2 separate regions of the Homo sapiens genome follow, and region 2 is linked to region 1. The links are contacts of gene promoters, found by promoter capture Hi-C in human tissues and cell types (Jung and others, 2019). All regions are on one chromosome and are shown on one strand. The core of a region is centred on a gene start or on the middle of the fragment in contact, and the rest is flanking DNA. Distances in the headings are between cores, read along the strand shown.

Evidence for each region. The method cuts DNA at HindIII sites, captures the fragments that hold promoters and counts their contacts. A contact is called where the count stands out against the background at its distance.
Region 2: a contact is called between a fragment that was not itself captured here and the fragment with the promoter of SGPP2 in region 1, in 1 of the 25 tissues and cell types used here (heart left ventricle).

Annotation. Positions count from the first base shown.
Region 1 is chr2:222,420,801-222,426,887 of GRCh38, reverse strand. SGPP2 (sphingosine-1-phosphate phosphatase 2) reads right to left here and starts at 2,345. Exons shown (of 5, transcript NM_152386.4): 1 at 2,067-2,345. The coding sequence starts at 2,285. RefSeq lists enhancers at 1,352-1,411, 1,462-1,611, 2,802-3,101 and silencers at 1,912-1,961, 1,972-2,201, 2,292-2,641. The HindIII fragment of the contact is 9,125 bases long and covers 1-6,087 here.
Region 2 is chr2:222,819,336-222,825,422 of GRCh38, reverse strand. No RefSeq gene overlaps it. Among named protein-coding and RNA genes, the nearest start is that of ACSL3, 39 kb to the left of the region's middle. The HindIII fragment of the contact is 3,763 bases long and covers 1,751-5,513 here.

The sequences.
Region 1 (6,087 bases), core at 1,096-3,595:
AGGGCAGCACACTTTTCACAACTGCCCCCTTAAAGTCCTGTAAATTGCCTGAGTGTAGATAAGAGATAATTTTTGAGGGGGGGAATCAATGTGTGTATGTAAAGGATTAATCTTCCCAAGTCATTTGAAACCAACCCACCTGTAAAAACATTAATTAACCTTTCATTTATCAAGCACTCTCAAGTTTATGATTTCCCCCATTATATACCAACACAATGATTTCTTATCTTGGGCATTCAGCTTTCTTGCTTTTACATGATCTGTAAGCAGAAGTCCTGTGTTGGCTGGGTGGGTGTGGGGAAACCGCCACAATTTCACTCACTGAAGACCCACCAGGATTGTCAAGCAGTAAGAAGATAAAACTGTGTAAGAAATCTGCTTAGCTTGCTTTTAAAGGTCAAGAGGATCCAACTGTGGAGTTTAAAGTTAAGTTACCAGGGGTGATGTTTAAAACAGTTTGAGAAGCACTGGTGGAACAATTCACTCTTTTTCAGCTTCCTGAATTAGAGAAACAGGGTAGAAGCTTGTGAAGAGAGCAACAGAAAGCAACTCACGTGTCTACCTGTGGGTGTAAACAGTGTGTGCACCGAATATGTCACGGCACGTTTCAGCCATGGGACTGTTTTTTGTTTGTTTGTTTGTTTGTTTTGGTCTTTTTTTTTTTTTTTTTTTTTTTTTGAGACGGAGTCTCGCTCAGTCGCCCTGGCTGGAGTGCAGTGGCGTGATCTTGGCTCACTGCAACCTCCGCCTCAAGCTATTCTCCTGTCTTAGCCTCCGGAGTAGCTGGAACTACAGGCCGCACCACCACGCCCAGCTGATTTCTTATCCCCCCTACTCTGCCCCGTTTTTAAGACAAGGCAAGAGAAAAAAGAGGGGTTCTCATACTCATCTATAGGTTACCGGAATGTCACATGGGATAAAGAAGGAACAATAAAGAGGAAAAAATACAGAGGAGGATTTCTCTGGAGTAGAACACACAACCACCCTCACCCTCCCAAACAAATTCTGTAATCCAATGCCTATAATATTCCATTCCACACAGAAGCCAGGTTCTTCGTAATTCCTCAGTTACTACATCTAGAAATTTACACGTAAGTAAAGGCCACCTTTCTTTCACCAAAACCTTCTAGGAAGAACAAAATGTGGCTGTGTACAAGGAATTCGAATTATTAATACGTTTATTTCTGTTCTCCTGCGCCACACTTTTGACTTTGCCGAGGGAAAAGGCAGGTGCTGCCAGTGCTCCCGGTAGACATGCGTCCCCAGAAGCCAAGTGCAGCCCGTCTGGTCCCTGCTGCCTAAAGTCCCTGTGCACTGCGACGACGACGCACGCTGGTTCCCCCCAAGCCGCAGTGGGTTGTATAACCACGCTTTGAACACCTAGCGGGAGCGTAGCGAGCTTCCCTCCCAGAAGCATCTGTTAGAAGTCACTGGTGTCGGTCCATAAAAGACCCACCAGGCAGGAGGGACCCCCAGACTCTGGGGGAGGGCAAGCGAGAGTTGCTGTTAAGACATCATCGCCGGGGGTAGTGCAGGGAGGTTGTAAATCTCTCTAGGAGCTGTGTGAGCCCCAAGTTCTGTGCCCAGAGCTGGCGGTGCAGCGCGGTGAGGAGCGCGCTGAGCCCGGCTGCACCCGCATTTGTGCGCATCAGGGAAGGGGGATGGGCGGAAATGCAAGAATACGGGGGTGGGGGGGAGTCTAAGAACGTCTCCCCGGGGAAGTGCCAAGGACATCCCCGCTCCTCCGTTCCATTACGTAACTCTTACATATTTGCTGGCATCTACGTGAATTTAACTACTTTTGAAAGTGGGAAGTCTCTAAATGGACTGCATTGAAAGCGTCTGGGGATATCTCAATAGACCCGGTTGCCCCTGGCAGCGTTGGAGGGTGGCATCCTGGTTACTGGAAGGCCAGGCCTCCCCGTCCGCTCGCAGCGGCGGGAGCCGGGTCACTGCCGGGGACGGCGCCCTCTCGGCCCGGCCGGCCCCGCGTGGCGGAGTCGCAGGGACCCGCACGTCCGCAGCCGCCCCCTCCCCGTACCCGGCGAACACCTGCCCATGGTTACCTCCGGCGCCGCGGCTCTGCGCAGCCCGTTGGCCGGAGCCTCGCCGCCCTTGCCGTTGGCTGCGGGGAGATGCTCGACCCCGGGGACCCGCGCCGCGCGCTCCGTGGGGTCCGCGCCGTTCTCCCGGGGGCCTTCATCCGGAGCGGGGAAGAGCCCGCAGCGGCGCTGGAAGCGGGCGACGAGCTGGGAATCCTGCAGGCTCCGCAGCAGCTCGGCCATGGTGTGCCCGGGGCCGCGCTCCGCCGCCGCTGCCACGCCGGGCCGGTGCCCTCCGCTGGCACCGCCACTCCCGCCTCGCCCCCGCCGATCCCGCACTCCGGGCGGAGGCCGGGCGGGCGGGGCCCCGGGCCCAGCCAACAGGTGCGCCGCCCGGGTCCTAGCGCCCGCCCAGGTGTCTGCCTCCACCTTGCGCAACGCGTCCCCCTTTCTCTCCGTCCCGGAGGGCTTGGGCGGCCCCGGGCGGCCACGGGGGCAGGACCGCCTGTAACTGGACGGAGGAGTGCCGATCTCCGAACTGCGCCTCTCTTCTCCCGGCGCCCCCAACCCCCCACCCCACCTTCTTCCCCCGGCAGACGTAACACTAATGGGAGCGGCCGAGCGCGCGTGCACCTGCGGCCGCTCCCATTAGCCCATCCTTTTGGGCTCAGGCTGATCCCACAGTGACCTTCCTTGCAACTCTGAGCCCAAGGTGAAGTCGGATTTCCTCCCACGCCAGCTCCCCACAGCCAGCCACGTACTCTCACCTTCCTGCAAGACTAGTTCCCAGTAAATACAGCGAGCCCCCCAGGGAGAATTCCCAAGTTCTTTCCAAACTGCGTGATGCAACGTCTCCCTAGAGGTCCGAACACCCTTGAGCTTGCTCAAGTACCCAGGAGGTTCAAAGTGGGCCCTGAGTCATCTTCCGCGTCGCTGCCCCTGCCCTTCTGATTTGGCAACTGGGGAACATTTTCAGGTGGGTGGGAAGGAAAGTCCCTTCTGGGTTTTCCGCATTGAGAACAAAGATGCTTACCGCTTTCTCCTACTTCTTTCTTTCCGCTCTGCCTCTCTTTAAGCAATGACACTGGGAAAACCCCACCAGACCATTTAGGGAGTTTAAACGAGAAGAGAACAAAGTGCTGGAGGACTGGGGACAGGATTAGGTATCTCATTGCACCTGCACCTGCTTTAGAGCACTCAGCAGAAGATAGCAAAGGAAACATCCTGCAGGCCGGCCTTGGTTTTCCCTCCTCCCTCCTACATTTCCCTCCTGGGCTCAGAGATCCCTTGGGAGGCAACAATCAAATTAGGCCCAGGTGATCAGTCTGCAACAAAAGTGCAATTCAACCCCGTCTTTCGTTTGCAGCAGAAACCTGCATGTTTCCTGATTGTCCATGCAAAGCCTACTAAGAATTTGGTTGCACAAATGATTAATGAACACCTGTCAATGCCTTATTTATTCAGTTGTCCTTTTAGGCCTGAATGTCTTTGGGATGTGACTTTCCAGGATGATGTAGTCCCCTTCATGCCCTAGTTTCTACTTTTCTTGCTTCTCAGTCCTGTCTGGAGAGCAAAGTCAAGGGGACTGAGAGAATGCTGAAGCTCTTAAGGGAAACCATTTTCCTCTTACAGAAGACACGCAGAGTTATTGTCATGTCTGGCGGGATCACACACAGAAATGTCCGGCCCAGGAGGTGGAAGCATCTCTCCACAATGCTTCTGGCTGTCATTTACAGGTGTGAGGCAAAACCCTGTGGTTTGGTTTTAGAAGCTGGAGCTGTGATCGTTGGGGACCTGTTCTGCTTATGTGTTAAAGAAATATGTTTTCCTGTGAAGGCACTTGCATCATGTGTCTCCCGAATTTAGTGCTTCGATTTTTCTTTCTACCAGTTAGGAAAAATAGGCAAAGCAAAACATGGCACACGCAGCATTAAGTTAATTGCCAAAGAATTGTATTTGTAGACAGAGCATTTTATCTCCATGGAGGATCAGTTACTGATTCCAGCTTCTAGTGGCTCACCAAGTCACCTGATGTAAGTCACCATATGTCGCAGTTTATCCCTGTAATGAAATGATAATCCTCACTTCTTGTCTTTCTTATAAGGCTCTTGTAAAAATAACCTTGAGACAAGCTCTATAAGGCCTAGTGAGATCATGATAAGAAGGTGTATTGTGCTGGAGTCATTCAATCTAGGAAGGAATCCTCAAGAGAATTTGGCTCTGAACATCTTGAGTAGGACATCTTGAGCCTCCTGGGCAGTGGTAAAGTCCATTTCCCCAGAACCTTTTTTTTCTAAGGCCCAGTCTGATTATTCTGAACATGAATTTCCCAACCAACCTAACAAAAATCAACATCTTTGAGAAGTGGTAGGACTGAAAGACTGCTGTAATGGTGCAGAGATATCAAATAGTAGCTTGCAGTCATGCAAAAAATTTTTTTTTCTTGATACCAGAGAAACACCCTGTAGTTCTTTGATCACTGAACACTAGTCATACCTGTGGGAAATACATTTCACATCCCGCCCCCCGACCTTTTTTTTTTTTTTTTTTTTTTTTTTTTGCCAGGGCAGAAATCCAGTTATTTGTACTTTGCTCACTTGTATATATGTAACAATTACAAAATGACATATTTAAAAGGAATCAATGATGGATATATTAATACTAGTTCGGATAAAGGTTAAGCTACTATAACAAAGAGACCCCAAAATAGAGTGGCTTAAGGAACACAGACATGTATTTCTCTTTCATAGAATGGTTCTAAGGCAAGCAGTTGAGGTTAGTAGGAAGCTCTGCTCCATGGCCCTACTCCATGACTCTGGTTCTTTTCATCTTATTGCTCCACCATGCCCTGAAACTGAGCCTTAGGTCATCGTCCTCTTTTGCATGGTTGAATCTGGGTTAGGGCTGAACATCTGAAGTTCAGCTCCTGAAAGGGTGAAGAGAGAGAGTGTTCTGAGCAGCAATGTCTTATTAAGCAAGTGAGGCAGAAGTTCACACATCACTTTCACTAACATTCCATCAGTGAGAAACAATTGGAAATGTTATCTCTAGCAGGGCAACCTTATGTCAAGCTTAAGCTATATTCCTGTGGAAGAAGTGGAGGACAGAATTTTTTTGTGGGCAACCAGCAGTCTCCACCAGTATTAGGAAACTAATGTTGGTTAAAATGTTGTACAGTAAAAATCCATGTTATAATTCAGCCATAATCTACACATTTTATCTAGGCAGCTTGTCATTCACTTGGCATGTTATAAATACTCATGTGCAGATAGAATTTTTTAAAAGAAGCCACACTAAAAATAAGTTATTCCAAAAGACAATTGGCCAGGCATACATGCCTGTAATCCCAGCACGTTGGGAGGCTGAGGCGGAGGATTGCTTGAGGCCAGGAGTTCAAGACCAGCCTGGGCAACACAGGGAGACTCCATTGCTACAAAAAAATTGTAAAAGTTAGTCAGGCATGGTAGCATGAACTTGTAGCCCTAGCTACTCAGGAGGCTGAGGCAGAAGGATTGCTTGAGGCCAGGAGGTTGAGGCTGCAGTGAGCCATGACCACACCACTGCACTCCAGCCTGGATAACAGAGTGAGATCTTATCTCAAAAAAAAAAAAAAATGGGGGCAGGGACACCTGGTAACCTTTAATAAGTTAAAGTAATTTTTTAAGTGTTGTCAAAATACCTTCATTATAAATGAAAAATTTTGGTATTAATTACATTATTGCATTTTAAGTTCTGATTTAGAGTTATTTCTCTGCAAAGCACGTTACTTCCAAATTACAACTAGACTGTTCAGTTTTCAATTGGGCAATGCTTCCTGGATCAAGACAAGTATACAGAATTTGGGTTCTGTATTGATTATCTATTGCTGCATAACAAATTATCACATAAAAATAGTAGCTTAAAACAACAACATTTATCATCTCAAAGTTTTTGCAGAGCAGGAATCCAAGTGGTTTTAGCTGGGTCCCCTGGCTCTGGTTTCTCACAGGGTCACAGTCAAGGTGCTGGTTGAGGCTACATCATCTCAAGGCTCAACTGGAGGTGG
Region 2 (6,087 bases), core at 2,383-4,882, 400 kb before region 1:
GATCCTTTTTGCTCTATGCCATGTGGAGTGTTGCCGATGTGCTGACTTGGAAATAAAATCCAACTGAAGTAAATGTCTGAGAATATTTATGATCTTGTAAATGAACTCCTCAAATGTTTTGAAAGATCTTGTTCAGAATAGATTTAGTTGCCAGCCACTGAGTTTCTACCCTGAGGGGTTTTCTGTAAAACCCTACAGAAATTTTGAAGTTTGAGTGGTTCATTACTTAACAAATAACTGCTTAACAAATCACTGGAGACTATATATATTCAGAACTACTCATGGTATTTCACAGTCTTTTATACTACAACAAAATCTAGAGACATCTAGATTTGACTAAGAAATAAAAAACATACATTTAGAGTAATGTTTAATTCTTGAAATTCAAAGGAGGCTCCATAAGTGACTGGAAACAGAAAGTCTTTGTTCTCATAAATAAGATTTTAAATTAAAAGTGTAGAAGAGAATAATTCTCAGCTCTGAAGATTAAAGAGTACAAGCATGAGTACTAAGACAAAAATTAAAACCAGACTTTTTTTTTTAAAGAAAATATATCTAAGAATTCCTACCATGAAGACACAGAAGGTAAAAATTTGGCATTTAAAAATTGGTAGAAAGATGCTAGAGAGGTTTCTGGATTTGTTTGATTTTACTTGATGGAGGTATTAAGTCTGTATTTGATCACAAACTACCAAGGTTTGCTAAGGATGAGGAACATAATCAAATTGTAACCCATCTGCAACAAATTTATATTATTTCTTGTATTTTAGTCAGATAACATAGATTGGATTCATAATTCTCTTCCAAGAAGAGACCCTTTGAAGTTAAATAAGGATTTCAAAAATATACAGAAAGTTGAATTAGGAGAAATATAATATTAAGAGCTATTTCTTGGTTGTGTGTACAATGAAACATGTTTATCAAAGCTGTAGGGGTAGCTCTATTCCTTGTCAATGTGTTGTTCAGTGGTCTTAGAGTTTCCTCATCCAGAAGTAAAGACACTTTACCCGCAAGATTGGAAGGAAGTAAAGTTAACGCAAGAAGAGATTGAGAAATAAACTTATTTTCAAATCTATTGTACTTTGAATATTGTTTTATTGCTTAGTGCTGAATTTAAATTTACTTAGAGAGATTGTCATTTAAATAATGTTGAACACATCTCAGCCTAGATGGCAGCAGCAAATAAATGTTGTCTTGGTTTAGGAAAGCATTGCTTTTTTTAAATTTTTATTTGAAGTTGTCTTAGTTTGTTGTAGTTGTTTTGTTTTTTGGCCTATCAAAGTATGCTCCATCAATACTCCATGGTATGCAGGAGTGGTATGTTTTGGGGAGAATGTGGCCAAATTTGCATGGGGAACTAGAAGCTTTGGGGAAAATGTAGAGATTTATAATTCCTACCCTTTTGGGGTTCAGATTCTGTATATGGGACTGAGATGGTCTGCAAGGAGAATCTGGCCAAGAAGAAAAGGGTGAACTGGCCTAGACTCCTAAGCTCAATATCAAGGTCTAGATTATTGAGAGCTGGTTCCAGCAGAGTGCATGGCTTACTCTGACAAGGAAGATGTGCTTTTGGGAACTGTGGCCAAACAGAGTGGAAACCTGGGCCCATGCACAAAAGCCACAGCCTCAGAAAATGCGAAATCTACCAGTGAACTAGTCAGCTTTCCCAGGCTCCCTTGGCAAGATATTTGGAAGCAGGACTGGCCTGGCTGGACTCTGTAACCTCTTAGTGTTCTTGGGAGAAGCCCTCAAGAGAGAAAGCAGAATTCTGCACATCTGGGCAAGTAGCGCCCCAGTGATTAAGTAACTTGATTATTAAAGGAAGATGTGACCTTATTTGAACTTTGAACATGATCAAGCACATCATACTAATTAAAATAATATCATGCTATGATCTCAGCCAGTGCTGGATATTCTACACGCTAGATCCATTAATGACCAAACAGGCATGTTTGCTTCAATACAAGAATCCTCTCTGCATTCAAGACCAGACTACAACAGAATGCAGTTAACCTTTACTTGCATATACACTCGGTTCAATTTAGTACATCCGTGGAGGCAAAAGTAACTCCATCTTGGATGCTCATCTGCCATGTTATCTTCTGATTAGCCCCAGTTCTGGGAAGGCCTCTAAGCTTTCCAGTTTATCTATTGTTCTTTAGGTAAGAGCATGTATTTACGGTGTATTCCACCCTTGGGTCAAAATAGCCTTGATGTTATCATACTTCAGTTGTCTACACATCCCCTCTGAATCGCATACACCCTTTCCCTGTGATACGTATGCCCTGGATCTGGGGGGGTAATGGTGCCAGGATTCACCATGTGGTCTTGCCGCCACCTAAGACTATATCGTTCTGTTGGTAAGCCCCTATTAAACATTTCTTTTTGAGACACCAGGTATTTCAGCCTCTTTCTTCAGCCTCTCCGCCTCCTCAGACTTTGGGTTTAGGTTTGCATAAGCATGCCCGCCATTGAATAATGTCTTACATTTGTTTATTTTTAGCTCTGAAAAATATGTGATACAGACTGTCTTTATATTGTTATTCATACCTTAATGTTTCTCCCTCCTTAACGTTTTAATATATATATATATTTTTTGAGATGGAGTCGCGCTCTGTCGCCCAGGCTGGAGTGCAGTGGCTCGATCTCAGCTCACTGCAAGCTCCGCCTCCTGGGTTCACACCATTCTCCTGCCTCAGCCTCCCAAGAAGCTGGGACTACAGGCGCCCGCCACCATGCCCGGCTAACTTTTTTTGTATTTTTAGTAGAGACAGGGTTTCACCGTGTTAGCCAGGATGGTCTCGATCTCCTGACCTCGTGATCCGCCTGCCTCAGCCTCCCAAAGTGCTGGGATTACAGGCGTGAGCCACAGCGCCCGGCCTAACGTTTTAATATTTTAACTAAGTTATAAGTTGAAAGTTCTTGATCAGGTAAAACAAACTTTAAAAATAAAACTAGTTCACATTCTACTTCTTTAAGTTGGCTTATTTAACCACTCTTAACTACTTATTTAAGAACTCTCCTTCTTGGGTAAAATCTTTCAGAAATTTCTCCCTGCAATATAAAAAAAATGAATTGGAAAAATAAGTAGTATTAATGTATTTTTAATCACACTGAGTTAAAAATATGATGAAAGGATAAATTAAACTTCGTTAATGTGATATACTGATGGAAAAATCCGTATAGCCAATTTATATAGCAACATATTGTCATCTCTTGGTATCCACAAGGAATTGGTTCCAGGAATTGAATTCCACCCTGTGGATATCAAAATCCATGAATGCTCAAGTCGCTTATTTAAAATGGTATAGTATTTCCTTATAATCTATGTACAGCCTCCTGTATACTTTAAATCATCTCTAGATTACTTATACCTAATGCAATGTAAATGCTATGTATGTAATTATTATACTGTATTGTTTTTTAATTTGTATTATTCTTTGTCGTTTCATTTTCTATGGTTTGTTTTTAAATATATATATATATATAAAATTTTTTTTTTTTGTGATAGAGTCTCCCTCTGTCGCCCAGGCTGGAGTGCAGCGATGCGATCTTGGCTCACTGCAACCTCCGCCTCCCAGGTTCAGTTGATTCTCCTGCCTCAGCCTCCCAAGTAGCTGGGATTACAGGCACACACCACCATGCCCAGCTAAATTTTTTTGTATTTTTAGTAGAGACGGGGTTTCGCCATGTTGGCCAGGTTGGTCTCAAACTCCTGACCTCAGGTGATCTGCCCGCCTTGGCCTCCCAAAGTGCTGGGATATCAGGCATGAGACACTGCACTCAGCCATTTAAAAAAATGTTTTCAATGCACTTTTGGTTGAATTAGTGGATGTAGACCTGCAGATAAAGAAGATCAACTGTAATTATTAACCTAAAAATTAGTTTAATAGTTTTAATCAATTTTCTCACTATTCTACATCTGTTATTCTGAAAGTTGTTACATTGCTAATATTTCCAGAGCAAATTTTTAAAAATTTTAGGCTGAGTGTGGTGGCTCATGCCTGTAATCCTAGCACTTTGGGAGGCCAAGGCAGGAGGATCACTTGAGCTCAGGAGTTCAAGACCAGACTGAACAACATAGTGAGACCTCATTTCTATTTCTTTTTTTTTTCTTTTTCTTGAGGCAGAGTTTCACTGTTGTTGCCCAGGCTGGAGTGCAATGGCACGATCTCAGCTCACCGCAACCTCCGCCTCCCAGGTTCAAGTGATTCTCCTGCCTCAGCCTCCTGAGTAGTTGGGACTACAGGCATGCGCCATCATGCCCAGCTAATTTTGTATTTTTAGTAGAGACGGGGTTTCTCCGTGTTGGTCAGGCTGGTCTCAAACTCCCGACCTCAGGTGATCCGCCCACTTCAGCCTCCCAAAGTGCTGAGATTACAGGCGTCAGCCACCGCACCCAGCTCTATTTCTATATTAAAATGGATATTTAAAAAATTTTTAAACATTCTTAACTTATTAAATGATTGCATTTAATTAATACTTCAGGTAAAATGCTTCACACAATTTTTATCTCCCCCTCGATTTTAAACATTTTGTGAAAATAATGCTGTACTTGATACCATTAGATGATCTGGGTGGCAAATCAATTTTGAATGTTAATTGGGCCTTTCTGTTATAATTTAAGACTTTTTCTTTGTCTGATTACCAGCCATAGTCAAAATATTACTTTTCTTGAAAGGATTAAGTTACAAATTTGATTTCAGAAAAGATGACTCCCTGCAATTATAGCAATAATTGAACTCACTCAACGTCAGTATTTTATTTTCAGTTTATAAAAATCATAATCAACTTATTCAAAGGGCTTTATAACTGAATTCTTATCTCTTTTTTACAGAGAATATGACAGGGTTAGGAAGATATTTAGCCAGATAATAAAAAGATACCATTTCATCAGCAAAATATTGAAGCCATACTTAGCACTTTTTGAGCCAAGCTTGAAATGGGAATGAGTGAGTAAGAAGGACAACTGAAGGAGAGGCAAGATGAAAAAGGAAGATACTCTGCTAAGTGCTGGGGAAATTTCACTTTTGCCAACAACTCAGACTCAGGCCTCACAAACCCAATCAGAACTTAGGATTCGATGCCGGAAAAGAGATGTAATCCACACATTCACTACATGTTTACAGTACCTGCTATGCACCAGGCACTATGTGATATCTTGGCAGTGCCACTTGTGGGCAAAACAAAGTCACAGTTTTCATGACCTTAAGGTCCAGGGAGTGATATAATCACATGCCTAGATGAAGAAGAATAAGGACAGAGGGTCTGGAGAGTCAGGGAAGGCTGCCTGGAGGAGGTGACTTTTAAGATGAGATAGAATGAAGACAACATTCCAAGAAAAGGAAGACCGAGTTCTGGAAAACAAAGCAGGCAGAAGCCTGTGTTCCTTTGCCAGCCTTAGTATCTTCCAGTCCATTCCTCAGGCTTCTTGTTGAGGATCTGCCTCCCACCCATAATCCCGATGCCTTAGCTCCACTGAAAAATGAAAGGGTGAGGCAATTGCAGATATAAATGAGTCATAACTTTTAGCTAGAAGAAAATGAGGTTAAGAACCACTGTGAACTCCATTCAACCTGAAAAAGTAAGACTGTTACATAAGGCTGCAGAAAAAAAACAGGACCCAATTTATCTACCAGGCCAGAATAAGTGAAGGCAAATGTCCCCAAATCCTGCCTATAATGACTCCCATATTATCATTGCAGTGATTTCTTAGTTTCTTTGGTCTCTTTGTTTTCTCCTATTTCTTGAAATTAGCCTAAAAAAATGAGTAAAAACTCATTTTTTACTGGCTTTGCTATTGAGGGAGTTCTGTGTTGAGTTGTGGGAAGTGCTTAATTACTGATTGATCTCATTGATCCATTAATGAGAAAGGTTTCCTAGTAATATACAGTTTCTGTCTGGTTCTAAGTCAGTATTTATTTTTGTCAGAGACTCAGTCTTTTCTCAATAATTGCCCTAGAAGGCGTTTTCACACTTACACTTGAATGATAAATGGATTGTAATTTGTACAACTAACCTAAGAAGCAAAGAGACTTTGCAGAAATACAAAGATTAAGGCAACAAGCCCCATTCTACAGAAACTGA